Regions from separate parts of the Homo sapiens genome. Here regions 1, 2, 3 and 4 are each linked to region 5. The links are contacts of gene promoters, found by promoter capture Hi-C in human tissues and cell types (Jung and others, 2019). All regions are on one chromosome and are shown on one strand. The core of a region is centred on a gene start or on the middle of the fragment in contact, and the rest is flanking DNA. Distances in the headings are between cores, read along the strand shown. Region 1 overlaps DIP2A (disco interacting protein 2 homolog A). Region 2 has its middle 30 kb from the start of S100B. Region 3 overlaps DIP2A (disco interacting protein 2 homolog A). Region 4 overlaps PCNT (pericentrin). Region 5 holds the start of DIP2A (disco interacting protein 2 homolog A).

Evidence for each region. The method cuts DNA at HindIII sites, captures the fragments that hold promoters and counts their contacts. A contact is called where the count stands out against the background at its distance.
Region 1: a contact is called between a fragment that was not itself captured here and the fragment with the promoter of DIP2A in region 5, in 5 of the 25 tissues and cell types used here (IMR-90 fibroblasts, adrenal gland, aorta and 2 more).
Region 2: a fragment that was not itself captured here is called in contact with the fragment with the promoter of DIP2A in region 5 in 5 of the 25 tissues and cell types used here (H1 embryonic stem cells, dorsolateral prefrontal cortex, heart left ventricle and 2 more).
Region 3: a contact is called between a fragment that was not itself captured here and the fragment with the promoter of DIP2A in region 5, in 4 of the 25 tissues and cell types used here (IMR-90 fibroblasts, dorsolateral prefrontal cortex, mesenchymal stem cells and 1 more).
Region 4: a fragment that was not itself captured here is called in contact with the fragment with the promoter of DIP2A in region 5 in 8 of the 25 tissues and cell types used here (adrenal gland, heart left ventricle, liver and 5 more).

What each region holds. Positions count from the first base shown.
Region 1 is chr21:46,530,166-46,535,861 of GRCh38, forward strand. It overlaps DIP2A (disco interacting protein 2 homolog A), which reads left to right. Exons shown (of 38, transcript NM_015151.4): 10 at 1,962-2,072; 11 at 3,359-3,482; 12 at 3,839-3,948; 13 at 4,420-4,522. Among named protein-coding and RNA genes, the nearest start is that of DIP2A-IT1, 71 kb to the left of the region's middle. The HindIII fragment of the contact is 5,555 bases long and covers 1,124-5,696 here.
Region 2 is chr21:46,572,000-46,577,822 of GRCh38, forward strand. It overlaps a transcript of DIP2A not described here. Among named protein-coding and RNA genes, the nearest start is that of S100B, 30 kb to the right of the region's middle. The HindIII fragment of the contact is 3,898 bases long and covers 788-4,685 here.
Region 3 is chr21:46,546,817-46,552,652 of GRCh38, forward strand. It overlaps DIP2A (disco interacting protein 2 homolog A), which reads left to right. Exons shown (of 38, transcript NM_015151.4): 21 at 99-226; 22 at 2,955-3,069; 23 at 3,727-3,928; 24 at 4,818-4,927; 25 at 5,008-5,088. Among named protein-coding and RNA genes, the nearest start is that of S100B, 55 kb to the right of the region's middle. The HindIII fragment of the contact is 5,357 bases long and covers 705-5,836 here.
Region 4 is chr21:46,376,974-46,383,236 of GRCh38, forward strand. It overlaps PCNT (pericentrin), which reads left to right. Exons shown (of 47, transcript NM_006031.6): 16 at 4,721-4,867. Among named protein-coding and RNA genes, the nearest start is that of PCNT, 56 kb to the left of the region's middle. RefSeq lists an enhancer at 1,805-2,585. The HindIII fragment of the contact is 6,085 bases long and covers 278-6,263 here.
Region 5 is chr21:46,457,413-46,463,471 of GRCh38, forward strand. DIP2A (disco interacting protein 2 homolog A) reads left to right here and starts at 1,479. Exons shown (of 38, transcript NM_015151.4): 1 at 1,479-1,810. The coding sequence starts at 1,720. It overlaps LOC124905046 (a long non-coding RNA gene), which reads right to left and starts at 1,301. Exons shown (of 2, transcript XR_007067915.1): 1 at 915-1,301. DIP2A-IT1 (DIP2A intronic transcript 1) reads left to right here and starts at 5,059. Exons shown (of 4, transcript NR_046400.1): 1 at 5,059-5,110; 2 at 5,300-5,351; 3 at 5,654-5,816. RefSeq lists enhancers at 693-832, 2,603-2,672 and silencers at 1,073-1,622, 1,813-1,882. The HindIII fragment of the contact is 5,308 bases long and covers 459-5,766 here.

The DNA.
Region 1 (5,696 bases), core at 2,651-5,150, 75 kb after region 5:
TCCAGGGTGGAAAATAGGAGAACATGGTGAAAATCAACATACCAGTGAAATCCCCTAGTGAGAAGGTCACCTGTGTCAGATCACCCAACAAGGAAACTGCAGGTTAACAAGCTGGCAGACAGTTCCAAGTAGCTCTTTCAGTGCCTAAGTCTTTAATATGAACTATTAGCCAAGGACTTTTAAGAAGGAAATGTCAATATGAGAGAAAATACCAAAAGACAAAGAAAAGGGAAGGGAAGAGAGGGAGTGAGAAAGAGACAAGAAAAGTAAGGAAGGGAGGAAAGAGGAAACAACAAGGAAAGCTAGATACAGAAAACAATGTTTCTAAAAAGTGAGTATTAATATTCTTGGAAATCAGAGATGAAGATGTTTCATAAGTCAAGAAAAGGATGCCGGTAGGAAAGACTAAGAGATGGAGAGCGGAGTAAAATAGGACAAAAAGACTCGATCAAGAAGACACAACACCTGACTGATAACTGGAGTCGAGAAAGAGAAAGGAGAACAGAAAGTAGAACATTTTAAATGAAAATAGTAATTCAGGACAATATCCCGGACCTGGAGAGTGTAAACATTCAAGGATGCACACCAAAACGCATGCCCATAATATTGCATAATACGAGGGGTACAGAAAAGAATCCCAGAGCTTTCAGGGGAAAAGTAGGATGTACACAAAGGATTGGCAATGACAGTGGCTTTTGGGATTTCTCATTGGTAAAACTGAAAGAGAGTGGAATGATGCTTCAGACATTCAGAGGGAATATAATTTTAACTTAAAATTCTGTTCCCAGAGATTCAACAGATTTGAGAATAGTATAGCCATTTTCAGACATGCAGGACTCAGAAACGTTTGGCTCGCAAGCACTTTCTTGTCAAGTTCTTAGAAGATGTCCCTCAGCCACATGAGTGAGTGAGTGAGTAGGGTGCAAGCAGGAGGACCACAGTGGAGGCCCCAGGACGATCACTGGCAGCAGTCCAGGGGGGGCAGCAGAGCCACCATCAGGAGAACCAAGACTCCAGGGTGGGGTGGAATCCTCAGCACCCACCATCAGGAGAACCGAGACCCTCAGCAGTGGAGTCCTCAGCAGCAGGGGACACTCACGGCTCTCCTGAGTGGGTGGTTATTTGGAAAATGACCCACCAGTAGGTGGGTATTTGACCCAGCTGAGGGAGTATTTTAAAACAAATTAGCTAGAGAATACACAGAAAGCAACGCAAGTAGAAATGGAGGTAGCTGTTATCAGAAAAGAAAGGAAATGTGTACTTGGCTATAAAAATGTAAACAGTTTAAGAATAATACTTTATGATATGTTGTGCTCATAGATGAGATTTTATGCAACGCTTTAGAATGAATTCAAGAATCACTAATTTTCTTGAAAAACATTCTTACAAGGATAAAGACTTTCAGATTCTTGACTTGCAAGAGAATCTCTTTGGTTAGGTGAATCATAATAAAATGGACAAGGTCACAGTGATTGAGTTGAAGAAATTGGTGGCAAATTCTGCCTCCTATAATATTACACTTTATAAAAGTGAGCACAGCTCTTCCTAACAAATTCTGTAAAAATATACTTTCCATACCAAACATCTAGTCTGAAGGTTATAGGTTACATTCTGGGCAACCACTGTTAAAACCAAATTTTGAAGGAGAACCTTGCCCTTTTCAACAAACAAACTTGTTAGAAACTAAATTTCCAGACCTCAAGTACAGAATATAGATACAGCTTAAATTTTGTCTTACAAAGTCAGCACTTATTGGTTATTCATTGTTGCGTGTTCTCAAAGGCCCTGAGTCAACTGTCTCTACTCAGTTAAATACTATTTGGACTTGTCCCTTATGGTTTCAAGCACAATTATTACAATATTTGGGGCTTACAAAAATTTTATTTATAACTAGCTTTTAATTTAACTAGATATTGTAAAAATTGGAAATTTGGAATATTCATTTCTTTGTCCTGTTGTAGGTGGCGCTCGTGTTTCCGAATAGTGACCCTGTGATGTTCATGGTTGCATTTTATGGGTGTCTCCTGGCAGAGCTGGTTCCTGTCCCCATAGAAGTGCCATTAACAAGAAAGGTAGCAAACCCATGGCTCAGGTCCCGTGTGGTTCGCTTCTGAACTTGATACCAGCAGTATCTTACTTCCTTTTCACTCATGTGGGCAGGCAGCAAGCAGCTGTTTTGACAGAGGAGAGAAAGCTAGTAGTCAACAGGCTGGCCAGGACTCAAGAGAAATCAGATGCCGTTTTGCCTGCCTCTCTTCTTGTTAATGAGAGGGGCACTGAGAACCGTTTTGCTGGTGATGCTCCCACACCACACTCTTATTAGGTGGAGCTGTTCTATCATCTACATGAATTTCCCAACAGAAATGATAGCCATTTTTTCCTCTAATGAATAGAATTATGATTCAATAAGATTTTGTTCAACTTTTCCTCAAAACCATATGTTTATAGAAAATAATTATTATTTCTTAGGGATAAATATATCATTACAGTGATATAGCTCACTTCTCAGTGGCAGTTTTGAATAAACGAGATGGAAATTATCTTGCATTTCTGTTCACTTATATGACCGTAGGCAGTTTCTGTTGCTGATAAATTATTAATGTGGGGTCTTGCTGATCTAGGTATCTGTAACATTTTTGATATAACTATCAATAATATGATTACTGAAAAAAAATAGACAAGGCATGAATTTGAGAAAATCAGTTTTCTGTCATCCTGTCCCAGAATTCAGGCAGTTGTTAACAGGAGCATTATCCAGAAATATTCAAGAATCCCAAAAGTAAAATTTGCAAATCAAACTAGTGTATCTCAAAGCATAATATGTGATGGGCAGGTATTTGAATGCAGTGGTTCTTAGGAGTAAAACTAGAGATTTGTCAAATTTATATGAAGAAAATGACAGAATACTGCTGAGGGACACAGAAGACTTGGCTACAAGGAAATGTGTTTCTGTGTGGAAATAATTTAATATCGTTGGTGACCAGGCCTCTCTAGATTAATTTGTAAATTTCAAACATGATTCAATAGAAATTTCAATGCCATTAACTTTGGAGTTTATTAAAAATGCTTCTAAATGTCATTTGTAAGAATAAACTTTGAGAAATTAGCCCATTAAACTTTATATTTCAACACAAATACAAACCAAAATTATCTTTTAAATTTAAACATAGTTGTCACATTTTCATGAACTATTTCCGTGAAAAGATCATATATATCAATAATGGGACTGAATTATTCTGGAAGTTTTATGAGGGATGAAAAAAAGATCTGTTCTCTGTGCATGGCCTGGAGCACCAAGGGTCTGGGGCTGTGGCTGCTGTGAGCACCCCACCCCACACGGTCACTCTGCTTTCTGCAGGATGCAGGCAGCCAGCAGGTTGGGTTTCTGCTGGGCAGCTGTGGAGTCTTCTTGGCCCTGACCACAGACGCTTGTCAGAAAGGCCTCCCCAAGGCACAGACAGGAGAGGTGGCAGCTTTCAAAGGTGAGGCCTCCCAAGGGAAGGGGAGTCAGTGTTCTGACTGTGGTCTGTGTTAAATGCATGGTGTTCCAGAAATTAAACATGACAGAGGTGTCTGGGTCTTCAGCAAAAGTGATCCCTTGTTCGAGTCCTTGGTGAATCTCGGTTTTCATCTGGCTTCATGTCTCGACCTGTACTGTCTAATGTGGTAGCCACTGGCCGGATGTACCTTTTTAAATTATATAAAATGAAATGAGACTAAAACTTGCACTCCTTATTCGCTCAGTAGCTAGTGCTGCATGTTGGAGGCGCAGGCTTCGAGTGTGGGGAGCAGATGCCTCTGACTGCTTGCTGTTCTGTGTCCTGTCTGTGTGTCACAGGTTGGCCCCCGCTCTCCTGGCTAGTGATTGATGGGAAGCATCTAGCCAAGCCCCCAAAGGACTGGCACCCTCTGGCCCAGGACACAGGGACTGGGACTGCCTACATTGAGGTAATGACTGTTCCTAACTTAGAGAATGTAAAAACATGTCCCACAGGCTTAAGTCTTGCTTTTCATAAGAATGTAAGTTGCTATTCTTTTTTGTTAAGTTTCGGCCTAAGAGTTCTTGTTTTATCTCTGCCCTGGAAATACAGAGTGTCATATAAATCCTTGCTCAGATCCTTCCAGGTTTCTCTCTCATCTAATTCTCTCCTAACTGGCTCCCTGGGGATGCAGACAGTTATGAGGGAGCCCATGGCGCACCATTACCCTCGGGCACCTGCCCAAGAGGAGCCACAACTTCCACTGAAGCATCCCCTCAGCGGCCAGGGTTTTGCCATGTACCTGGGCTGCTGGTTAGAGGCCGATGGTTAGAGGAGAGACACTGACCACTTCTTCTTTTGAAGATTCTACCAGTTTCCATTCTGTCTGTTGTCACCTCTAGAAATACCACATCATGTTTTTTTCCTTGAAATCTTTCAGTATAAAACCAGCAAAGAAGGCAGTACGGTGGGGGTCACAGTGTCCCACGCATCCCTGCTGGCACAGTGCCGGGCTCTGACCCAGGCGTGCGGGTACTCAGAAGGTAAGGGCTCTCGGGGGTGGGGCGGTGGCCCCTCCAGCCTCACACAGATACCTGACGTACCTAATCATGTGACTGTCACTGCACCTGTCAAAACCACCCCTGGGTAGTGCCTTTGCCCATTAATCCGGGTCATGCCAGGTAGGGAGATGCACTGTCTTTAGCATGCTTACAGGGTCTCTGTGGTTGTGCTGGCCAAGAGGGCACACGGTGTCTCTTAGCAGAGTCCAGACAACCCCATCAGGGTTGTTTTCAGTAAATGCACATGGATGTTGATTTTATGGAACATGGAACCTATATCCCACTGATTGATTTATACACAGTGCTGGGTTCACAGGCCTGCCCTGGGGGGCTGGCTTACTCTGTGACATACTGAGGGTCAGGGCATTTTTCATTCAAAAAGAGGAAAACACTTTTAGTTTTCTATTACTTTATCTATGACTGTAGTTTTGACCTCAGCTGTCATGGATATAAATATATAAGTAGAATCTTTATGGTTATAGATGATCTGTTGATAAAGTATAGTCAGCACCTGATTTACTTCAAATGTCAGATACTTAACTTGAGATATCTTTAAATTAATATTATTTAATTGATAAGTACTAATTGTATATATTTATGGGGTACACTGTGACAATTTTAAAAACTGTAAAAATGGACTCAGTAGTTTTCTTACATTGTAATACTAGAATTGAACAAAACTACTGAGTGAAATTGAATGGTATGTCTAAATATCTAAAATATAGGTGTTCAGGCCAGGTGCAGTGGTTCATACCAGTAATCCCACCACTTTGGTAGGCTAAAGCAGGAGGAACACTTGAGGTCAAGAGTTTGAGAGCAGCCTGGACAACATAGTGAGACCCTGTCTCTACAAAAAAAGGGAGAAATTTTAAATAGAATTTTTAAAAAAGAAAAAAATATAGGTGTTTAAAAGCAAGGGTATAAGTTGAGGGCACAGCTAAAGCTTTTACTTGAGATTTGGAAAGTGATTTTAGGTATTTTTTAAGGGCTTTATTAAAAAAGTTAGATCTTTCAGATCAAGCCCCGTGACTTTCTTTGTCTTCAGCTCAGAGCTGATCTTACATATGTCACCTACAATTTGGGTTCTTTAGCCAGGCGTGATGATGTGTGCCTATAGTCCCAGCTACTCGGGAAGCTGAGGTAAGAGGACCGCCTG
Region 2 (5,823 bases), core at 1,487-3,986, 120 kb after region 5:
TAGTTTTTGCCCATTCAGTATGATACTGGCTGTGGGTTTGTCATAAATAGCTCTTATTATTTTGAGATATGGTCCACCAATACCTAGTTTATTGACAGGTTTTAGCTTTTAATAATAAAGTTTATAATGTAAAAAATAAAAAATTTTTAGAGAAAAAAGTTTATAAAGATGTCTAAAAATGTTTTGCACAGTTGTACAATGTGTTTTAAGCTAAATGTTTTTACAAAATAGCCAAAAACTTAAAAACATTTGAAAGTTTATAAAGTTACAGTAAGCTAAGGTTAATTTATTATTGAAGAAAAATTATGTTTAGTGTAGTCTAAGTGTACAATGTTTATAAAGTCTATAGTAGTGTACAGTAATGTCCTAGGCCTTCACATTCATTCACCACTTACACCCAAAATAACTTTGAGTTCTACCAGCTCCATTAATGGTAAGTACTTACTATGATTTGAGTGACCCCCAATGTGGCAGTATTAAGAGGTGGGGCCCTTAAGAGGTGATTGGATTAATCTATTCAAGGATTGATAGATTAATGGATTATCATGGGAATGGGGCTGATGGCTTTGTAAGAAGATGAAGACCTGAGCTAGCATGCTCAGCGCCCCCACCATATGATGCCCTGCACTACCTTGGGAGTCTGCAGAGAGTCCCTACCAGCAAGAAGACCCTGACCTGATGTGGCCCTCAACCTTGGACTTCTCAGCTGCTATAATTCTAAGAAATAAATTCATGTTTTTCTTATAATGTAGCCAATTTCAGGTGTTCTGTTATAAGCAACATACAATGGACTGAGTGCCCTGTACAAGTGTACTGATTTTAATCCTTTATACTGTATTTTTACTACCTTTTCTAAATTTGGACATGTGTTTAGATATACAAATACCAGTGCATTACAATTGCCTACAGTATTTTGTACAGTTACATGGTGGACAGGTTTGTAACCCAGGAGCAATAGGCTATATCATATAGCCTAGGTGTGTTGTAGGCTAGGTTTGTGTAGATACATATACACTGTATGTTGTTCCCCCAATGATGAAATCACCTAAAAACACATTTCTCAGAACATATTTCTGTTGTTAAGTAATGCATGGCTGTATGCACAAAAGGAAGTGAGAAAGGGATTTAAATGTTTCATTAAAAAAAAACACAGAAGGGCGCAATACAAGAAATGAAAGAGATATAAGGCATATAGAATATGAAGTGACAGAAGTAAGTCTCTCCTTATTGATAATTACTTTATCTGTAAATAGATTAAATGGACAGAGATTGGCAGAATGGGGAAAAAACAGGATCTAACTGTATGCTGTCTACAAGAGACTCACATCCAAAGACACAGTATTAATATATTGAGAGTGACAGGATGGAAAAATATATTCACTGGGCACAGTGGCTCATGTCTGTAATCCCAGCGCTTTGGGAGGCTGAGGCAGGTGGTTTTCTTGAGCCCAGGAATTTGAGACCAGCCTAGGCAACATGAAGAGACCACATCTCTACCAAAAAAATACAAAAATTAGCTGGGCATTGTGGCTTTCTCAGGAGGCTGAGGTGGGAATATTCCTTGAGCCTGATGGGTGGAGATTGCAGTGCACCAAGATCACAACACTGTACTCCAGCCTGGGAGACAGAGTAAGACCCTCTCTCACAAAAAAAAAAAAAAAAAAAAAAAAAAAAAAAAAAAAAAGATATTCCATGCAAATAGTAATCAACAGGGAGCAGAGGTAGCTATAATAATATAGTTTAAATAAAAAATGATTACAAGAAATGATGGACATTAATAAAAGATTCAATTCAGCAAGATGTAACAATTGTAAACATTTACACATACAATGACAGATCATCAAAATATATGAAATGAAAACTGACAATAGAAGGGAGAAAGGAGAAATAGACAGTTCTATAATAATAGTTGGAAATGTCAGTGCCCTGCTTTGAATAATGGATGGAACAATAAGACATAAGTAAGGAAATGGAGGCTTTAAACAGCACAACAAACTAACTAGATCTAACAGACATATGCAGAACATTCTACCCAACAATAAAAATAGAATACACATTCTTCTCAAGTTCACATGGAACATTTTCCAGGATAGACAACATGTTAGGCCACAAATTAAGTCTCAATAGATTTAAAAATATACAAAGTCTCTCCTTAAACCAAACTGGGATAAAGTTAAAAATCTATAGCAGAAGGAAAACTGAGAAAATACAGAAATTAGTGAAAATTAACACACTTTCAAACAACCAATGGATCAAAGAAGAAATAACAAGAAAAATTAGAAAATACTTGGAAATAAAAACAATGTACCAAAACTTATGGGACCCAGCAAAAGCAGTGCTAAAGAAGCAATTTATAGCTATAAATGCTTACATTAAAAACCAAGAAGGACCTCAAATTAACAAACTAACATTACAACTTAAGAAACTAAAAAAGAAGAACAAACTAAACCCAAAGTTAGCAGAAGTAAGGATTAGTGCAGAAATAGATGAGAGACAATAGAAAAACAGAGAAAATCAAGAAAGCCAAAAATGGTTTCTTTGAAAAGATCAACAAAATTGACATTTTAGCTAGATGGACCAAGAAAAAAAGAAGACAGATTACTAAAATCAGAAATAAAATTGGAAACGTTACCAATTCTACAGTAATAAAAAGCATTAAAAAATACTATGCACAATTGTATGCCAACAAATGGAAAAACCTAGAATAGACAAGTTCCTAAAAACACAAAACATATCAAGACTAATCATGAAGAAATAGAAAATCTGAGTAGACTTATAACTAGTAAGGAGATTGATTTAAGTAATAAAAGATCTATTGACAAAAACCTGATGGCTTCATTGGTGAATTCTACCAAACATTTAAATAACTAACACTAATCCTTTTTAAACTTTTTCAGAAAGTTGAGGGAAAACTTTCAAACTTACTCTATGAGGCAAGCATTATCCTGATACTGGAACCAGTCAGACACTACAAAAACAGAAAACTACAGACCATGATTCCTTCTGAACATTGATGTAAAAATCCTCAATAAAATACTAGCAAACTGACTTCAGCAGCATATTAAAAACACTATATAGCATTACAAAGTGGGGTTTACTCCTGGAATGTAAGGATGATTCAATATATAAAACAATCAATGTAATAAACCATATTAATGGAATGAAGGGGAAAAACCACATGTGATCGTCTCGATTGATGCAGCAAAGGCATTTGGCAAAATTCAGTACCCTATAATGATTAAAGAAAAAAACAACTAGGAATAAAAGGAAACTACTTCAACATAATGAAGTCCATATATGAAAATCCACAACAAACATCATACTCAGTAGTGAAAATCTGCAGAAGCTTTTTCTGATAAGATCAGAAACACAGCAAGGATGACTGCGTTTGTCACTTCCACTCAACACAGAACTGGAAGCTCTTAGAGCAATTAGGCAAGAAAAAAAGGATTCTAAATTGGAAAGAAACAATTCAAATTATCTCTGCCAATGATATAATCTCATATGTAGAAAGGCCTAAAGATTCCACAAAAAAAAGTAGCACTAATAAATTTAGCAACATAGCAGGATACAAGGTCAACACACAAAAATAGTTGCATTTTCATACACTCACAATGAACAATTCGAAAAGGAAATCAGGAAAACAATTCCATTGACAATAGCATCAAAAAATATTTAGGAATTAACCAAGGAGATGAAAGACTTATAAAATGAAAAGTACAAAACATTGAATGGAAAACATCGAACAATACAAAGAAATAAGTGGAAAGACATCTTATGTTCATGGATTGGAAGTCTTAATATTGTTAAGATGTCAGTACTACTCAAAGCCATCTACAGATTCAAGGCAGTCCCTATCCAAATTCTAATTATGGTTTTTGCAGAAAGACTAACTCATTCTAAAATTGATATAGAATCTAAAGACACTCTGAATAAACAAAGCAATTTTGAAAAAGAAAAAGCTGTAAGACAGTTCTCCAAATAAGATATACAAAAGGTATACACCTTTGAAAAATGAAAGCAAAATAAGGACATTCTTAGATAAGCAAATTTTGTTGTTGGCTGACATCACCATAAATACTAAAGAAAGTCCATCAGACTGAAAGCAAGTGACCCCCGATGGCAATTTTTAAAAATTTTTAAGTTCTAGGGTACATGTGCAGGATGTGCAGATTTGTTTCATAGGCAAACATGTGCCATGGTGATTTGCTGCACCTATCAACCAATCACCTAAGTCCAGCATGCATTAGCTATTTTTCCTGATGCTCTCCCTCCCCCAGTGTCCCCCCAACAGGCCCCAGTGTGTGTTGTTCCCCTCTGTGTGTCTATGTGTTCATAATGTTCAGCTCCCACTTATAAGTGAGAACATGTGGTGTTTGGTTTTCTGTTCCTGCGTTAGTTTGCTGGGGATAATGGCTTCCAGCTCCATCCATCTCCCTGCAGAGAACACAATCTAATTCCTTTTTATGATTGAATAGTATTCCATGGTGTAAATGTACCACATTTTCTTTATCTAGCCTACCATTGACAGCCATTTGGGTTGATTCCATGCCTTTGCTATTGTGAATAGTGCTGCAATGAACATACATGTGCATATATTTTTGTAATAGAATAATTTATATTCCGCTGGGTATATACCCAGTAACGGGATTGCTGGGTCAAATGGTATTTCTGGGTCTAGGTCTTTGAGAAATTGCCACACTGTCTTCCACAATGATTGGACTAATTTGCATTCCCATCAACACTGTAAATGCATTCCTATTTCTTTGCAGCCTCACCAGCATCTGTTGTTTTTTGACGTTTTAATAGTTGCCATTCTGACTGGTGTGAGACAGTAGTATCTCATTTGTGGTTTTGACTTGCATTTCTCTAATGATCAGCGATATTGAGCTTTTTTTCATATATTTGTTGGCCGCATGAATGTCTTCTTTTGACAGGTGTCTGTTCATGTCCTTTGCCCACTTTTTAATGAGGTTGGTTTTTTCTTGTATATTTGTTTTAAGTTCCTTGTAGATTCTAGATATTGGGCCTTTGTCAGATGAATAGATTGCAAAAATTTTCTCCCATTCTGTAGGTGGTCTGTTTGCTCTGATGATAGTTTCTTTTGCTGTGCAGAGGCTCTTCAGTTTAATTAGATCCTATTTGTCAATTTCCTTTTGCTTTTGTTGCAATTGCTTTTGATGTTTTCATCATGAAATCTCTGTCCGTGCCTATGTCCTGAATGGTATTGCCTAGATTTTCTTCTAGGGTTTTTATAGTTTGGGGTTCTACATTTAAGTCTTTAATCCATCTTGAGTTAATTTTTGTATAAGGTGTAAGGAAGGGGTCCAGTTTTAATTTTCTGCATATGGATAGCCAGTTCTCCCAGCACCATTTATTAAATAGGGAATCCTTTCCCCATTGCTTGTTTTTGTCATGTTTGTCAAAGATCAGATGGTTGTAGATGGGCAGTCTTACTTCTGGGTTCCCTATCCTGTTCCACCGGTCTATGTGTCTGTTTTTGTACCAGTACCATGCTGTTTTAGTTACTGTAGCCTTGCTGTATAGCTTGAAGTCCAATAGCATGATGCCTCCAACTTCGTTCTTTTTGCTTAGGATTGTCTTGGCTATATGGGCTTTTTTTTGGTATCATATCAATTTTAAAATAGCTTTTTTTCTAATTATGTGAAGAATGTCAATGGTAGTCTAATGGTAATAGCATTGAATCTATACATTACTTTGGGGAGTATGGCCATTTTCACGATATTGATTCTTCCTATCCATGAGCATGGAATGTTTTTCCATTTGTTTGTGTCTTCTCTGATTTCCTTGAGCAGTGGTTTG
Region 3 (5,836 bases), core at 2,133-4,632, 91 kb after region 5:
TGTGCTGTTGGCCCCTTCTTGGGGGGCCTGACCATGGTCCTGGCGCATCCAGCTTCTGCCCGTGTGGGTGGAGTCTTGACGCACACCCTTTCCCTCAGGACAACCTGGTCTTCATCGTGGGCAAACTGGACGGGCTGATGGTCACTGGAGTTCGCAGACACAATGCAGATGACGTTGTGGCCACCGCACTGGCCGTGGAGCCCATGAAGTTTGTCTACAGAGGCAGGTGATGCGCTGCGGACCCCCACGCCGGGAGTAGATTCCTTCATTTGCAGCTCGGGAAGTCTTTGTGCAGTAGATGGAAAGCCCAGCAAACTTGAATTCACAAAGCCTAAAAATTGTTGTACATCAGAAAACTCCTAAAGTAAAAGGAAAATATTTGCAGCAATGATACCAGAGTTAATATCCTTACTGTCCAAAGAGTTCCTTGGATTCCTTAAGAAAATAAGGTTTTGATGTAAAATTTGGGGCAAAGGCTCAAGGGGACAAATCAGGGAGGGAAGAATTGAGTAAAGCAAAGGAGAAATGGGTCTAAGTTCCTAATAACCTTGGAATGTGAATTAAAACAGAAAAGTGCCATTTTCTCTGCGAGACACATGACACCCTCCATTGCCTCTGGAATAAAAATCAACTCAACTTTTCTACATGTGTAAAGCAAGGACCTTAGAGATTCTCTTGAGCAAATAATAGACCTCTGGGCCTATGCCCCTGGGCACAGGGGCCAGGAAGAGAATTTTGCTTCTTCTACTCCCAAGCTCCTTGTCTGGGAGGAAGCTCTTCCCCTAACTGGTCCACTCAACCAGCTGCCTTTTTAAATTTTATTTTTCTCAAGGGGGTGCCTTTTTTTTTTTTTTTTTTTTTTTTTTAAAGATAGGGTCTCACTCTGTTGCCCATCCAGGCTGGAGTGCAGTAGTGTGACCATAACTCACTGGAGCCTCTACCTCCTGGGCTTCAAGCAGTCCTCTTACCGCACCTCCTGAGCAGCTGGGACCACAGACATGCACCCCACGCCTGGCTAATTTTTTAATTTTTTTGTAGAGATAGGGTCTCACTATGTTGCTCAAGCTGCTCTCGAACTCCTGGGCTCAAGCAATCCTCCCTCCTTGGCCTCCCAAACTGCTGGGATTACAGGTGTCAGCCAATGTGCCTGGCCAAGGATGTGCCTTTTGTTACTCAAACTAAGGTACTTGGGAGCCAGGTCAGACCCTGCCTTTGAGTAGCCCTTAAAGCAATCGTGAGGGGATTCTGCAAAGTGGTGTGTCATCATGGTTAGTCTTGAGGAAAAAGCCCAGAGGATGGACAACAGAGAAGGTGGGAGATTGCTCAGGGGGCTGGGAAGGGCAGGCTGTGCTCATGCATGTGTGCGTGTGTGTGTGTGTGTGTGTGTGTGTGTTTGTGTGCGCCTGCGTGCAGGGGGAGGGTGGCACAGCCAGGGTCATGACCCCCCTCACAGCAGAAATGGGGGACACATTGGGCAGGTGTCCTTAGGGATAACATCAAGGTAGCCCAAACCCTGCTTTGAGGTGGAGCAGGGAGACCACCCCCTCGCAGGGCCACCTGTACCTGATGGTGACTGCGTCTGCAGGCAGGATAGCCTCCCTGTCCCCACTAGGGAAGAGCTGAGGAATACAGGAGCTTGGAAGTGGAACCACAACCAATTGAGAGTATATGTGCCATTGGAAGAAGAGCAATAGAAGATTTGCAACATGAACTAAGATCAAGAAATGCTAACAAAGTAATTGTTCAAAGAACACAGTAGATGGAATACATAAAATGGATACAGCTAGAGAACAAGTAGAGAAGGTGGAAAGTCAGATTAGGGAACTACTCTGGAAGTAAAATAGGAACTTTAAAGGAACTATTAAGAGAGATGGGAGAGAATAAGGGCTGGTGTCCAGATAGCAGACTCAAGGAGAAGGGATATGTTTAGTGGTGGTTAGGGATTGTCTGAGGAAGCAGGTGGTTGGGGTTCTCTGGACTGGGAAGTGGTCCACAGAGGGCCCCATGGCATGTTGAGCTTATCTGTATTCTCACCATGGACCACACAAAAGCCAAGCAAAACACATCAGACTTCCCCACAGTGGAACTGGCACAAGATAACAGTGCACCCAATTTATCCAAATTGTCACTTTATTGTGCAGTTGTAATAAAAAATATTTTTAAGCATGTAAGTTTCAGAAGTTTTAACACACAGAGGTCCGTACTGAAAACAGTTTTGGTCAAGATACTAAGAGAAATAAATTCAAGATGTGCTATAAGATGTATGAGAGTAAGGAGAACTCAGTACTAGGTGAGGTCTGTTGTGTAAATTGTGTGTGTGTGTGTGTACACACACACCAGTCAAGTCAAAGGAAAGGACAAGAGACGGTATATCCATAATGTCCCAGAGTCAGAATGGTAGACATCCTAACATGATGGGTTTGGTGGGGAGACCATCTTCTTACTTTATGAAAGAAAAGACAAAGATATCAACTCAAAGTCTAAAAGAAGGAAAAGGCAACACAGAAAAAAGGAGGACATGTTGAAATTTTTAAGATAGTAAAAACACGTCTAAATATACTAATCACTATAAATGTCAATAGACTAACTCTAGTAAAATAGAGATGCGATCTGTTGGATTAAAAAAATATAATAAATAGAACTTTTAGACAAAGATTTGTGCAGAAGGAAATTTACATCAGATTAAGGAATTTTTTCTTGTAAAAATGTGTGTCTTTGGAGCTGTTTTGCTTTGTCCTGAAGTCCTCTGTTTTTTGTGACTTGAGACACATTTCAACCATCCTCGAGGAGATTAGAATGATGAGTTACTTTTTGAATGTGCAGCAGGTAGCCCCATTTGATAGACTGCATTTTAAATACTAGGACAGTCTGCCTCTTCCATCGTGAGGGTGAGAATGCATCTGTGTCTTGTTTGGCCTCTTGCCGTGTGGCCATTTCCATGTCTCATCCCGCAGGATCGCTGTGTTCTCTGTGACCGTGCTGCACGACGACCGGATTGTCCTGGTGGCTGAGCAGCGGCCGGATGCCTCGGAGGAGGACAGCTTCCAGTGGATGAGCCGTGTGCTGCAGGTGGGCGCCCCGGCACGGCCTATGGTTCGGTGAATCTCCCAAGCTGGCACCCCCACTCCACTCCAAGTGCCAAGTGGTTGGCTTGTCCCGCCCGGTCCTCCCTGGCTCCAGCTTTGTTTATCTGTATTTTTCATTGCAAATTGACAAATTACAGCTGTATGTATTTACGGGATACAAAGTGATGTTATAATTTATGAATACAATATAGAATAATTAATATATCCATCACCTCAATATTTATTTTTTTCTGATGAGAACATTTGAAATGCACTCTCACAGTGATTTTGAAATGTACATTATTATATTCACCAGTCTGTGCAATATATCTCAAAGAAAAAACTTTCCTCCTCCTGTCTAATTGAGGCTTTGTGCCCTTTCACCATCATCTCCTCATTGCCCCATCCCTCAGCCTCTGATCACAGATTTGTGGACATGTGTACACAAATACAGTGTGTGTGTTTCCCCTTTCTGAGTTAAATGGTAGAAAACTGCACACACTTCTCTTCATCTTGTTTCCTCATTTAACAAAGTGTCCAGAGGGCATTCCATTTCCTGGCCTGGGGAACAGGTCCACAGAGGGGATGTTCCTGTCCCCCACCCAGCATCTCCCCAGCCTCAAGTTGGGGGCCTGTGCCAAACAGGGTCCTTCCCTTTCAGGCCATTGATAGCATCCACCAGGTGGGCGTGTACTGTCTGGCCCTGGTTCCTGCCAACACCTTGCCCAAGGCTCCTCTCGGAGGGATTCACATTTCTGAAACCAAACAGCGCTTTCTGGAAGGGACGCTGCACCCGTGTAATGTGCTGATGTGCCCTCACACCTGTGTTACCAACCTCCCCAAACCTCGTCAGAAACAACCAGGTTAGTTGAACCTAACAACAGGATGCTCTCTAGTCTAACAGTGGTAACAGCGGTGCTTGTGGTTAGGGTGCGGCCCTGCTAGACCTCCAGTGCCAACTGCCCACGTCTTTGGGGCTGGGGTCAAGAGCCAGAGCGAGTGTGCACCCCAGAATGGTGCCACCTCCCGCCTTCCTGGAACCAGCCACGCATGGGGGAACTTAACCACATCACCTGCATGGTGGTTTCCACCTGCCTGTTAGGAACCAATTTTAATGATAAACTCAAGGATGGCATCTTAGCTTTGCATGGCTAGGAGATGGCTCCCTAGGGCTAGAAATGCTGCCCAGGATCATCCTGGAGCTGGACGAGCTGGACACATCACATCACCCAGTGTCTGTGTGGCCTCGGAAATCTCTCAGCAAACGGCCAACTTGCCTTCCCTCATTTTATACATTTAAAAGCTAATTTTAGAGACTGGTTTAACTTTAATGCAATTTTTCATTTCTTTGGTCCTGTTGATTTTTAGTACATGCCAAAGTTTTTTTTTATTAATTATTGAACACATATCACTAAATACATTTCATCAGGAAGATTTAATTTCCTGATTTATACATAAAGTACAGTAAAACAAAATATGTTAAGAATTTTGCTGTGACTGAGGCCAAATCGTATCCTCTGAGATGCGTCGTGTAGTAAACTTCTCAATAAGGCGTAGTTTATGTTCAAGAGAGAAATTCTCTTTGTCACTTAGCATAAACCTTGTAGCTAGCTTTCTGAATATTTGTATCTCAGTAGAAGAGTTAAATGCCTCATTCAAGTATGTTTTCAAAATAAAAATTGTAAATAAAATCACGTGATGTTTATATATGAGAAGTCACCAGCTTTTCATTCAGAGTTCCCCCGTTTCTAGAGGTTGGACCAGCCTCAATGATCGTGGGGAACCTGGTTGCTGGGAAGAGAATCGCTCAGGCTTCCGGGAGAGAGCTCGCCCACCTGGAGGACAGCGACCAGGCACGGAAGGTGACAGGCCAGTTCCGGGGACGGGTGGACGGGTGTCTGTGCCCCGGAGGCGCCAGTGAGCAAGTCGCCCTCTCGTGCAGTTCCTGTTCCTGGCTGACGTGCTGCAGTGGCGTGCCCACACCACTCCTGACCACCCGCTGTTCTTGCTGCTGAACGCCAAGGTGAGGCAGTGTCACGCCCACGGGGCTTGGAAACACCTGTGGGCCGGTGGAGCCCTTTGCTTGTCTAGTTCATGGTGCCAGTGTCCTGGTTGTTCTCATGTTTAGAGAACAGGGTGCCTGTGGACTCAGCCCCCGTCCTGGTTGTTCTCATGCGTAGAGAGCAGGGTGCCTGTGGACTCAGCCCCCTTGTCTGGTGCGGTTCTCGCTGCCTGCCCTTTCCTTTCTTGTTTTCCACACATTTCACACAATAGTATTTCTATTGATTTTGTGTTTAGCAGGAAAATTTTTATCAGCTCAAGTTTTTAAAATTAAAAACAGTATACATGTAAATATTCCTAAGTTTGTGAGCTAAAAGGAAATGTTTATTTTGTAAAAAATTAGCCATTTAGAATTTCTACATTTGGTTACAGCTTTTAAATGACAAATGTTGCTTCCTGCCCTGCTCCTGCTGCTGATTTGGAAATTCTCATGTGTTTCAAGTTCCTGTTGTGTGCATTCCACTGTGCTAGGAACATTCAGGATGTCAAGAAGGAGAAGCTGTAATCTTCATATTCAGGTTGTGGGCAGGAATGCGAAATGCGGAAACACAGAAAGTTAAATAACTTAAAACCCTGCAAGGCTTCCTGTCCCACGCACCATACAAGCTGTAAGAACTCTTAAGCTTTGGTGTCGTAAAGAGTAGGTCACTGTGGCTTAGAATATGCTCTTCTAGCTCTTGGTGCTGCTCATTCGAATTAAAAAAATACTT
Region 4 (6,263 bases), core at 2,070-4,569, 79 kb before region 5:
TGGTCCCTGTGACTAAGATGCAGATGCACAGCCCACCTGGCACCTCAGCAAGTTCCAGGCCGGCGCGGGGGGCACCCGATCCTTTATCCTTTTCCTCCCCATGGCTTATCACACAAAAAAAGGTAGAGAATAAAGGTCATTTCTGGTGTCAGGGCTTCCATGTGTTTATTGAAACTGTTGCCCCAGTTACTTCAGAAAAGGCACTCACTCATTGTTGACGTCTTCCTCCTCCTGAAGCTGGTGGAGCCCCAGCCCTCAGCCCTCCTGGCCGTGCTGGGCAGGGAGCGGGAGCCGGCAATCCACCCCAGATGTTCTGGAGCAGCAGGTCCCGGAGCAGCAGGTCCCACTGCTGAGGACATGGGCTTCGTGCTGTCCTTTCCTGCCTGCTAAGTAGATACAAAAAACTTACTTTATCAGTTACCTTTTCACATGCCAAGTCAAAACACAAAATAATTTCATTGTCTTAAAACTGAGCTTTTTCTAGGCAACTTTTGTCAGGCCTTTTTATATTTAAATCTGCTGTGTAACACACCTTTTCTACCAAGAATCTGTCATCACTTATCTTAGAGCTGAGAAAAGTTTATTCTAAAATATTTCATCACCTCAAAAAGAAACCCCCAGTGGCTCGTGCCTATAGTCCCAGCACCTTGGGAGGCTGAGGCAGGAGGATTGCTGGAGCCCAGGAGTTCAAGACCAAAAATAAAAAAATACTAAAAATAAAAAAATTAGCCTGGCATGTTGGCGTGCCCATATAGTTCCAGCTACTCAGAGGCTGAGGTGGGAGGACCACTGGAGCCCAGAAGGTTGAAGCTGTAGCAAGCTGACATCGCACCACTGCACTCCAGGCTGCATGACAGCAAAACGTTGTCTCAAAAGATAATCAATGAAAATTAAGGAAGAAAACAAGAAACTCCCCATTCTCCCTTCTCCCCCATGCCTGGTGATGTGCCGTCTGCTTGCCGTACCTGTGGGCGTCCTACGTACATAGACTCAGCGTGTGCCCTCGGTGTCCGCGGCTTTCACTTTGTGTGTTTCCCAGGTTGGCGCACGTTGTAGCATGTGTCAATACTTGCTTGGTATGTGTTTTCTGCATATCTTATGCCCTTTTTGTTCTGTATTCCTCCATTACTGCCTTTTTTCACTTTAATTTCCTTGATGTTTCCTTTACCATACGGTGGTCGCCCCTTACCCACAGGGGATGCATTCCAAGACCCCCAGTGGGTGCCTGAAATCGTGAATGGTTCTGAACCCCTTATATGCTGTTTTTGTCTATACATACCTGTCATCAACTTTTACCTTAAAGGAATCACCCTGTGGTGTCTCTGGCATATCTGAATTGCTCCGTCATCAACTTTTAACTGAAAGGCATCACTCTATGGTGTCTCTGGCACGTCTGAATTGCAGCATTGCAATTGAACGGCCTCTCTTGCGCTTTGGGGCCGTTATTAAATGAAGTAAAGGTGACTTGAACACAGGCACTGTGATGCTGTGACAGTTGGTCTGATCACCGAGATGCCTGCGTGTGGGCAGGTAGTGCTTGCCACGTGGATAACGCCGGACAGAAGGATGACCCCCGGCCTGGCCTGCGAGATTTCCTCACACCGTTCAGCTTGGGGGCAGGCAGTTTAACACTCATAAGAGTTGTTTACTTCTGGAATTTTTCATACGATATTTTCAAAATGACGTTGAACACAAGTAACTGAAACCGCAGACAAAGGGGACTGATATATATTGAGTTATTTTCTTAGCGCTTGCCCTGAGCGTTACAGCAAGCACCTTCTAACAATCTGGTTTGGATTAATACCAACTTAATTTTAAAAGTTTACAAAACCATTTGCTAATGTAGCATCATTCCCTCGTCTGCCCTTTGTGCTCATATTGTCGTACCAACCACATCTTTCTATCTTTTTGTGCTCGTTACTTTATGCACGTGTCTTTTAAACCAGGAGGAAGAAGAATTGTAAACAAAAGCCATGTTGTTTTGTCTCCTGTTTTCTCTGTGTCGTTACCTGCACTACTGCTGCTCGTTTCTTCCTGGAAATTCAGGTCTGGTGCCTTATGTTTCAGCCCGAAGGACTTCCTCTGGGATTTCTTGAAGGACAGGTCTGCTAGTGATGAATCCTCTTAGCTTTTGTTTTTGTGGGAATGTCTTAATTTCTCCTTCATCCTTGAGAGATCATTTCCTGGATGTGGACTTCAAGATCCAGGCTTTTCCTTCAGTGCTGCGTGGGCTCTCCGCTGCCTCCCCTGTCATCCGGGGCTGCGTGTCGTGAGCTGCGCCCGTCTTCCTGGGCTGCGTGTCGTGAGCCGCGCCCGTCTTCCCGGGCCGCGTGTCGTGAGCCGCACCCATCTTCCTGGGGCTACGTGTCTTGAGCGGCACCCATATACCTGCTGTGCACTGGCTGGCCTCAAGCTTTGTCCTGAACCCTGCTGAGGTTTGGCTGTGATGGGTGAAGTGTGGGTCTCTGTCAGTTTGTCCTACTTGGAGTTCATTGAGCTTGTATGTGGGGATTATTATTTTTATTATTATTGTTATTTTCATCAAATTTGGGAGGTTTTTGGCCGTCGTGTCTTCAAGGGTTCCTCTGCCCTTTTCTCTCCCTCTGTCTGGCTTGAGGGTGCCCCACAGGCCTTGGAGACTGCTGAGTTTTCTTCATGTTTCTTTCTGTTCCCTGACTGGATCGTCTTAATTGACCTATCTTCCAGCGTGTGAATTCTGTCTTCTGCCTGCTCGAGTCTGCTGCCGAACCCCTCTCTAGTGAATTTTTTTTTCTGTGATTGTATTTTTCAGCTCCAGATGTCAAGGGAGCTCTATTTCAGTCTTTCTCTCTGCTGAGGGCCCTGCGTGCATTGTGCCCTCAGGGCTCTGGCGGGCGGTGGACAGCCTGGCCCTGGCCTTCACCCCTGCTGTGCCAAGCCACATGGTCACTGCAGCCGGCCCAGGACCTCTTGGGCCTTTCCAGCGTGGGCACAGCCCTGCACGTGTTCACACCTTGTAGAGTCCCAGAAGATGTCAGAGCTTTCCAGAGGCCCCTGTGGACATCGCATTCTCAAGTGTTTTCTTTTGTTTTTCTGGCAGTCCCTTATTAGTCCCAACTGGTTTCTCTACTGTGGGCAGTGCGGCTATTAAACACTTGACACTGACTGTTTCCAACCGGTGCCCTGGGGTAGATTTTTTTTTTTTTTTTTTTTTTTTTTTTTTTTTTTTTTGAGACAGAGTCTCTGTCGCCCAGGCTAGAGTGCAGTGGCGCAATCTAGGCTCACTGCAAGCTCTGCCTCCCAGGTTCACACCATTCTCCTGCCTCAGACTCCCGAGTAGGTGGGACTACAGGTGCCCACCACCACACCCAGCTAATTTTTGTATTTTTAGTAGAGATGGGGTTTCACCATGTTAGCCAGGATGGTCTCGATCTCCTGACCTTGTGATCTGCCCGCCTTGACTTCCCAAAGTGCTGGGATTACAGGCGTGAGCCACCGCGCCCGGCCAACCCTGGGTAGAATTTTTGACACCGAGAGCTCTGACCCAGTCACGGCAGCAAGGTGCCCGGCAGGTGGGCTCGGGCAGTTGTGCATGGAAATTTTGGGGTGCTCCAAATCCATTCTGTCCCCCACCCCACCCCAGCAGCTACTGGTTTTCAGGGCTGTTAGATTGGAGAGGAGATATGGAGTCAGGGCAAAGTTAAGCACCTGAAGTTTGTTCTTATGGACACTCAGCCTGTGTTTTCCATAAACACTCTTCGGATGATTGCAAACCTGACCAGATTTCCACAGCTCTGAAAACACTGGTTTTGATGGTTTTTACCACTTTTTCTTTTATAGAGGAACAGATTTTGGAGGTCCTTACTTTGCCATTCTAGAAGTGCTACCTCTGGAAGTTTAAAAAAATAAGCTTATTTCATTAATTTAATTGGCCGGGTGCAGTGGCTCACACCTGTAATCCCAGCACTTTTGGAGGCCAGTGTGGGTGGATCACTTGAGGTCAGGAGTTTCAGACTAGCCTGGCCAACAGGTTTTGGTAGAAACCCTATCTCTACTAAAAGAAAAATTACAAAAATTAGTTGAGTGTGGTGGCAGGCGCCTATAATCCCAGCTACTCGGGAGACTGAGGCAAGAGAATCCCGTGAACCTGGGAGACAGAGGTTGTAGTGAGCTGAGATCACACCACTGCATTCCAGCCTGGGTGACAGAGAAGAGTCCTTCCAAAAAAAAAAAAAAAAAATCTCTGTGTGTGTGTGTGTGTGTGTGTGTGTGTGTGTGTGTGTGTGTGTGTGTATAGAATTCATCTATTGAACCTTATTTAAAAGGTTTTGTTATTTAGAAAGAAGGTTTAATCTTTTAAAAGGGAAGGAACCTAGGTTTCCAAATATCTTGGGTTTTCATGGCTGTAATTCCTTGATGGTGAACTTCTTAGTGTGACTCTTAAAGATGTTACAGGAGCCATTTGGGAATGGTAGTGAGCAGTTGCTTATGACACGCAGCTGTCACCAGTGCGAACTTGTGTCTCCTTAAGTGTTTTATCCCCGAAACCAGGACTTTGTGTTCCCAGTGAAGTCCTTGAACCCATGTTTTCTTTGATGGGGGCTGTGGTCTGGCTCATCCCGGCTCTTGGTGCAGAGTGGGGGCTCCATGCATATCTGCTGAATGTGCTGAATTCCGGCTAACAGCAAAGAAAGTATTTTTCTAGCTTACTGGTATTTTTTATTGTTATTGATGTGTACAGGGTGAATTTGGAAGTGAAAAGAAAACTGCTTTGCATGAAAAAGAGGAGACACTTCGGCTTCAGAGTGCACAGGCACAGCCTTTTCACCAAGAGGAGAAAGAGTCTTTGTCTCTGCAGCTTCAAAAGAAGAATCACCAAGTCCAGCAGGTGTGTGGAATACGCTGTTCCCTTGTGATAAGACGTGTATAGCATAAAAATCATTTTCACTTTATTTCAGTGCACAGTTCAGTGGCAGGAGTGCACTCATGGTGTTGTGCATTTATAGTGTTGTACATTCAGTGGCGGAAGCGCATTCACAGTGTTGTAGATTCAGTGGCGGAAGCGCATTCACGGTGTTGTGCATTCAATGGCGGAAGCGCATTCACCATGTTGTATATTCAGTGGCGGAAGCGCATTCATAGTGTTCTGCATTCAGTGGCAGAAGCACATTCACGGTGTTGTGCATTCAGTGGCGGAAGCGCATTCATAGTGTAGATTCAGTGGCGGAAGCGCATTCATAGTGTAGATTCAGTGGCGGAAGCGCATTCATAGTGTTCTGCATTCAGTGGCGGAAGCCCATTCACGGTGTTGTGCATTCAGTGGTGGAAGCGCATTCATGGTGTTGTGCATTCAGTGGTGGAAGCGCATTCACAGTGTTGTATATTCAGTGGCGGAAGCGCAATCACAGTGTTGTATATTCAGTGACGGAAGCGCATTCACAGTGCTGTGCATTCAGCAGCAGAAGCGCATTCACGGTGTTGTATATTCAGTGGCGGAAGCGCATTCACCATGTTGTATATTCAGTGACGGAAGCGCATTCACGGTGTTGTGCATTCAGTGGCAGAAGCTCATTCACAGTGTTGTGCATAGTTCAGTGGCGGAAGCACATTCACGGTGTTGTATATTCAGTGGCGGAAGCGCATTCACGGTGTTGTGCATTCAGTGGCGGAAGCGCATTCACGGTGTTGTGCGTTCAGTGGCGGAAGCGCATTCACGGTGTGCGTTCAGTGGCGGAAGCGCATTCACAGTGTTGTATATTCAGTGGCGGAAGCGCATTCACAGTGCTGTGCATTCAGTGGCGGAAGCGCATTCACCGTGTTGTATATTCAGTGACAGAAGCGCATTCACGGTGTGCATTCAGTGGCGGAAGCGCATTCACGGTGTTGTGCGTTCAGTGGCGGAAGCCCATTCATGGTGTTGTGCATTCAGTGGCGGAAGCGCATTCACGGTGTTGTGCATTCAGTGGCGGAAGTGCATTCACAGTGTTGTATATTCAGTGACGGAAGCGCATTCACAGTGCTGTGCATTCAGTGGCGGAAGCCCATTCACGGTGTTGTGCATTCAGTGGCGGAAGCCCATTCACAGTGCTGCGCATTCAGCAGCGGAAGCGCATTCACAGTGTTGTATATTCAGTGGCGGAAGCGCATTCACAGTGCTGTGCATTCAGTGGTGGAAGCCCATTCACGGTGTTGTGCATTCAGTGGCGGAAGCGCATTCACAGTGTTGTATATTCAGTGGCGGAAGCACATTCACCATGTTGTATATTCAGTGGCGGAAGCGCATT
Region 5 (6,059 bases), core at 229-2,728:
AGATGGGGTTTTGTCATGTTGCCCAAGCTGGTCTTGAACTCCTGAACTCAAGCAATCTTCCCGCCTTGGCCTCCCAAAGTGCTGGGATTACAGGTGTGAGCCACTGTGCCCAGCCTCATCTTTTCTTAGCAGGGATCCAAACTTAGTGGAAGAGTATTGCCTTGTTTGGGTGTTTTGCTATTTTTGGAGTTCAGTCAAACAGGGATGTTAATTCCTGGGCCTGGTTCTTGTCTTTGACCTGCTGCAGTAAATGAAGCTTCTCTATATGTAACGGGACAGATTCACTGGCTTACAACTGTTTGTTGCTTGCCTTCAGCTGACCACTATTCTTAAGAGTCTCGGTTGGCACTAAGCAATAGCTATCCAATCCCCCTTTCCTTCCTTTTATCTACTACGTTCACCATATATGAAATGTCTGATACTTCACCCACTCGTGGATTCCATTTCACTAGTTCACCCTCCTACTTCACCACTGGTGAGTGATGCAGCCTCGAATCCCATCTTCTCACCAGCTTTAATGCTGCAGAATGGTTTCTCCAGAAGCAGACGCTGCGACTGAGTTTGGGGTACGAGGATGTTGACATGGTATCAACACCCGTGAAAGGAAGGGGAAGGAAGCAGGACTGGGCGGAGGAAGAAGGGTATGTAAGTCCCGCAAAGCTTTGGCCAACCTCGTGTGGAGCTCTGGAACGAGAACTGCTGAAGTTCGCCAGACTCGGGCACTCCTGCCTAACTCAGTAACAGGCGGGCGGCATCGGGACACGGACACGCTGCTCAGGCCCCGCCACAGCCACCCTCGCACCGTCAGACACACTCCCACACATTCGGGGAGCAGGGCCTTCAGGACGCCGGCGGCGCCCTCTCAGTCTAGCTCCGCCAGGCCCCTCGTCCGTCCTCCCGCCCTCCAAGGTCACCTCGCGGTCCGACATGGCTGCTGGGGCTCCTTCGGGGCCAACGATGTGTACTTCTAGGGCTGTTTTTTAAAGCAAAGGAGTGAACACAGGTAAAGGCACGAGAAAGGTGCCTCGACGCCACCACGGACTGCGCAGCGTTCGCGATCAGCACAGCCCGAAAGGGAAGACAGCGGTCAACGCGGACGCGCCATGGCGCGGGGACCAAGGAGGAGCCCCGAGAGGGGCGGGGCTGGCCGGAGGGCCGCGCGCGGGGCCACCAGCGGCGCCTAGGGGTCAGCGCCAACGCCCACGGGTTGGTCATCCCCACTTAGGCGCCTCGGGCCGCAACTAAGCAGCCTGCCCGCCTCAAGCCCGCCACCCTCAAGCAGGCCCAGCGCAGAGCCTGTCGGGAGCGGCGCTCTCCCGCCTCTCCCAATGGGAGCCCGGAGCGGCATCGACGCGTCTTCGGGGCCAATGGAAGCGAGGCTCTGGTGTTGCTGGGCGGGGCCGGGAGGGCTGCGCGGGCCCGAGACCCACTGCGCACGCGCGCTCGCTACCCGCCCTTCCCGCCGCGCACGCGCTCCCGTGTAGGGCCGGCCGGGCGCTCAGGAGCGCGCGGGGCAGCGGCGGCGCGGCGGAGCCATCCGCGCTCGTGCCCGCGCGGGTGCGTTGCTGTCCTGGCCGCGCCCCTGTCCCGCCGCCTCCCGCTCCTCGCCTGGCGGATGTAGGTTGTTGGCCTGAGGGGAGCTACGTAGCCGAGGTTTGCGCTGCCGCCGCCAGGCCCGGTCCGGTTCCAGCCTCTGCCCGGACGCTAGCCGGCCTGGCCATGGCTGACCGCGGGTGCCCGCTGGAGGCGGCGCCGCTGCCTGCCGAGGTGCGGGAGAGCCTGGCTGAGCTGGAGCTGGAGCTGTCGGAAGGTGAGCCGGACCCCGCCCTCAACCCCCGCGACCCGCCCTCAGCCCGGTCCCCCGCGCAGCCCCTCACTCCGGGACCCCCGCGCGGCCCCTCACTCCAGGACCCCCGCCCTTCACCCCCGGGACCCCCACGCGGCCTCGCCCCTGGGACCTCTGCCCCTCAACGGGACCCCGGTTCCTCTACCCTGGAACCCGCCCCTCGCCCCGGAGACACCGTTCCTCAACCCTAGGACCCCGCCCCTCATGTGGGACCCCAGCACGACCCCTCGCCCCGAGACCCCGGCCCCTTACCCCCGGGAACTCCCGCCCCTCACCCCCGGGACCTCCTGCCCCTCACCCCCGGAACCCCGCGCGGCCCCTCACCCCGGGGACCCCGCCCTTCACCCTGGGAGCCCCGCGCTGCCCCTCCGGACTCCCGACCCTCAGCCCCGGGACACCCGCGCGGCCCCTCAAACCAGGGACCACTGCCCCGCCTCTCATACAAGGACCCCTCCCCCATACAAGGACTCCTCCCCCCAGGCCCTTCACACCTGGGACCCTTACTCCTCACCCCGGGACGCCTGCCAAACTTCTGGAGACCTTTCCCTATCCCCAGCTGCTCCCCCAATGGGATCCGACCCCAAGGACTGGCTTTGACTAGGTCGTTTGGACAGGTGTGAGAATCTTGAGAGGAATGACCACTTTTGCCCCAAGCTGTGAGCCCCGCTTTTCTCAAGGCTGTAGGTCTGGGCTTGGTCTGGGCTTCACCAGGATGACTGCGCCCGTTGTCCGCAGGCAGCTACTTCCCTTGGAGCTGGGAGCCCTTGCCGCGCGCCTCATACTCTAGGAGCTGCACCCTGTGCCTCATTTTATTATCTATAAAGTGGGGTTATACCAGCACTTTCCATTTTGGATTGTTATGAGGCTAAAATACCTTAATATATGCAAAGCACATAACACTTAGGAGTTGTTAGCCCCCTCATGGAATTTTTTAAAGTAAAAAAAAAAAGTCGTATAAATGGTTGGTTGATAAAAATAGACTGGAGTAATCTGGCTTCAGAGGTGGTGGGTGGCATTTCCCATTTGGATGTTATCCCTTTCAAGGCCTGTGTCCTGATATTCCTTTTGGCTGTCTTTGGGAAAGAGTTAAGTTCTTCTCCAGTGTCAGAAAGGACTTGCAGTCCTTGAAGAAAAGCATGTAATTGATTCTTACTCTGTTTTTGAGATCTAAATGCATTTTCAGCTTTTAGAATCCATTTTTTAAATAATCTTATTATCCTTAATTTAAGTTTCAGATTGATAAGATTTTGCTGGGTCTGGGGTAGTTATTTCTCAAAACATCTAAATAATATGCACTAGCATACAGTAAGTCATTTAATCCTTGCCAACCTTAGGGAGGTAGATGCTGTTGTGATCTTGTTTTACATATAATACAACATGTACTTGCAACTATTTTGAATTCAGCATTCAGATTTTTAACAATGTTGTGACATGTGGCACATTTTTTTTTTTTGAGACGGAGTCTTGCTCTGTTGCCCAGGCTGGAGTGCAATGGCGTGATCTCGGCTCACTGCAACCTCTGCCTCCCAGGTAGAAATGATTCTTCTGCCTCAGCCTCCCGAGTAGCTGGGATTACAGGGGCTTGCCACCACGCCCAGCTAATTTTCGTATTTTTAGTAGAGGCAAGGTATCACCATGTTGACCAGGCTGGTCTCAAACTCCTGACCTCAGGTGGTCCGCCTGCCTCGGCCTCCCAAAGTGCTGGGATTACAGGCATGAGCCACCGTGCCTGGCTTGTGGCACATTTTTAAAAATGGAAGTACAGGCTGAGTACACAGTGGCTCATGCTTGTAATCCCAACACTTTGGGAGGCCACGTTGGCTTGGAGACGGGAGTTCAGAACAGCTTGGGTAACATAGCAAGACTCTGTCTCTACAGTATTAAAAAAAATTAGCTGGGCATGGTGGTGTGCACCTGTAGTCCCAGCTACTTGGGAGGCTGAGGCAGGAGGATCACCTGAGCACTGGAGCACTCCAGCCTGGGCAACAGAGCGAGAACCTGTCTCTTCTCACCAAAAAAAAAAAAAAAAAAAAAAGGAAAGAAATGGATGGATTTGAGAATTCTTGGTGATTAGATGCTCCTAGGCAGTCTGACAAACTTAAATTAGGAATGGGTTTGACAGGATCTACTGTACTGCATTTGTTAAGGCTCTTTAGGGAAAATCACATATACGCAGTTTAGATTCTGTGCATTTCAAACATATTTTTGCGTATTGCTCCTAATTTCTGCTCCAATGTATTCATTATTCCCTCAATTTTTTGTGTTGTAGTTGTGTTTGAGTGCTTGCTAGGCATTGACAATTGAATCCTTTCCTCAAAGAACTTTATAATTTGTGCGACAGAACACAAGTACTTAAATGAAAGAAATGTTTCCTATCTGTTGGATCCATTTATGCTATTGTCATCTTAGAGATATGTAGGGGATGTATAGGTAAGTAAAGGTATAAGATTATGTAACATGGAGAGGAACCTCGAAAAATAGCTTAAGCTGAGAAAGGGGGTAAACAAAAAAAGTATTGAGCCCAGAAATGGTGGCTTAGGCCTGTTATGTTTGCATTTTGGGAGGCCCAGGCAGGAGGATCACTTGAGCCCAGGAGTTTGAGACCAGCCTAGGCAACATAGGGAGACCCTGCCTCTTCCAAAAAAAAAAAAAAATTGGCTGGGCATGGTGGTGTGTGCCTGTAGTCCCAGCTACTTGAGGGGCCGAGGTGGGAGGATCACCTGACGAGGTTGTGAGCCTTTATAGTGTCACTGCATTCCAGCCTGGGAGACAGAGTGGGACCTTGTCTCAAAAAAAAGTGTTAAAGGGAAGACAGCAGAGAACAGAGTAGTAGAGTGGCAGCCAAGGAGGTGGAAGCTCTGGCTTCTTGGCTTCTTTCCCTGCTCCTAGACTGGCCTGACACTTTTCTTTTGGCCAAAATAGGTCAGTGATTACTTAGGCACAGTCACACGTGGACCTGCTTCCAGGGCGCTTCCACAGGTTAATGCTGGCTTATGTAGTTTATGTGGTGGTTGTTGTTGACGTGGGCTCTCCCTGTTGGATTTGGAGATGCTTACTGGTAAGGACTTTGTTTTAGGCAGATTTTTGGCTTCTTCACACAGTGGTGGGCATCTGGTAAAGTGTCTGTGAATCTCCTGTGGATTACAATGTCTCTAAACGTGGGTTTAGTTAGCTGTAAAAGGGGGTGAATACCAGCTTTATTGACATTCCAGGTTTATTGTCAAGATTCAGTCACATAGTGTGTGTGAAAATGCTTCGAAACTGGTAAGGTGTTTTATTTATATAATTAAAGGGAGATATTAGTAATGAGTTATAGTCCTAAAACAACCAACATTAGTGTTTCATTGTTATAATTTTTATATATTGTCAAAATAGTGTAACTTTTTTATAGCATTCACATTTATCTAAGTGAGAAATTGCCTAAAACTTAAGAGTTGTCACTGTGCTTGGTAGGTTGGAAGAAGAAGCTTAACAGTGACAAAGATGCTGTCTTCAACAGAAACTGGTAATGAGTGATACCTGAATAATCTAGAAAATCCTGCATGCCTTCCCCTCAGCCTGTTGAAAGTATCCTCTGCCTTTCTTCATACCTCACACCTGGCCTTATTCTCCAGCATCCTCACTGCATTCTCATCATCAACCATAGTGATTGGCGTTGGCCCTGAGGGAAGGTTCTGGTAGAATGCTATGATTTATTTCCATAGGGCAAGTTTGCTGAATTTCTGTTATAGATTCCCAAGAGGGAAATAAGGCATAGCTGTGTTCTTGCTCCTTAACTTTTCTGGCTGTTTTGCCCTCTTGACTTAGGAGTCTGCTTCAGATTAAGATGAAGATGAAGAGTAGAAGTACATGGAACCCCACTCTTCTTAGACCCCCTGCCCCCCAATCATGAACACATACAGAAGAATTCATATGTGTGGTTCCTGAAAACCTATCAGGATGTTCATTGATGGAAGTGAGATCATTAGAGGTATAACCTTGATATTTAAAAAAGAATTAATTCCCAAACCTTTGTGCTTTGCCTGTTGCTGTAACAAATTACCTTGGACACACCTCACAGCTGATTTTGGCACACCAGTGCTGTACGTGTCTTGGAGCTATTGCTGCTGAACTGCTTTAAAAACATGGACAGTGGTATTTTGTTCTTTGTTTTAATAGACTACAGTGGGTTAGAGAGGAAATTCCTACACAATAGGCTACCTTTATCCCATTC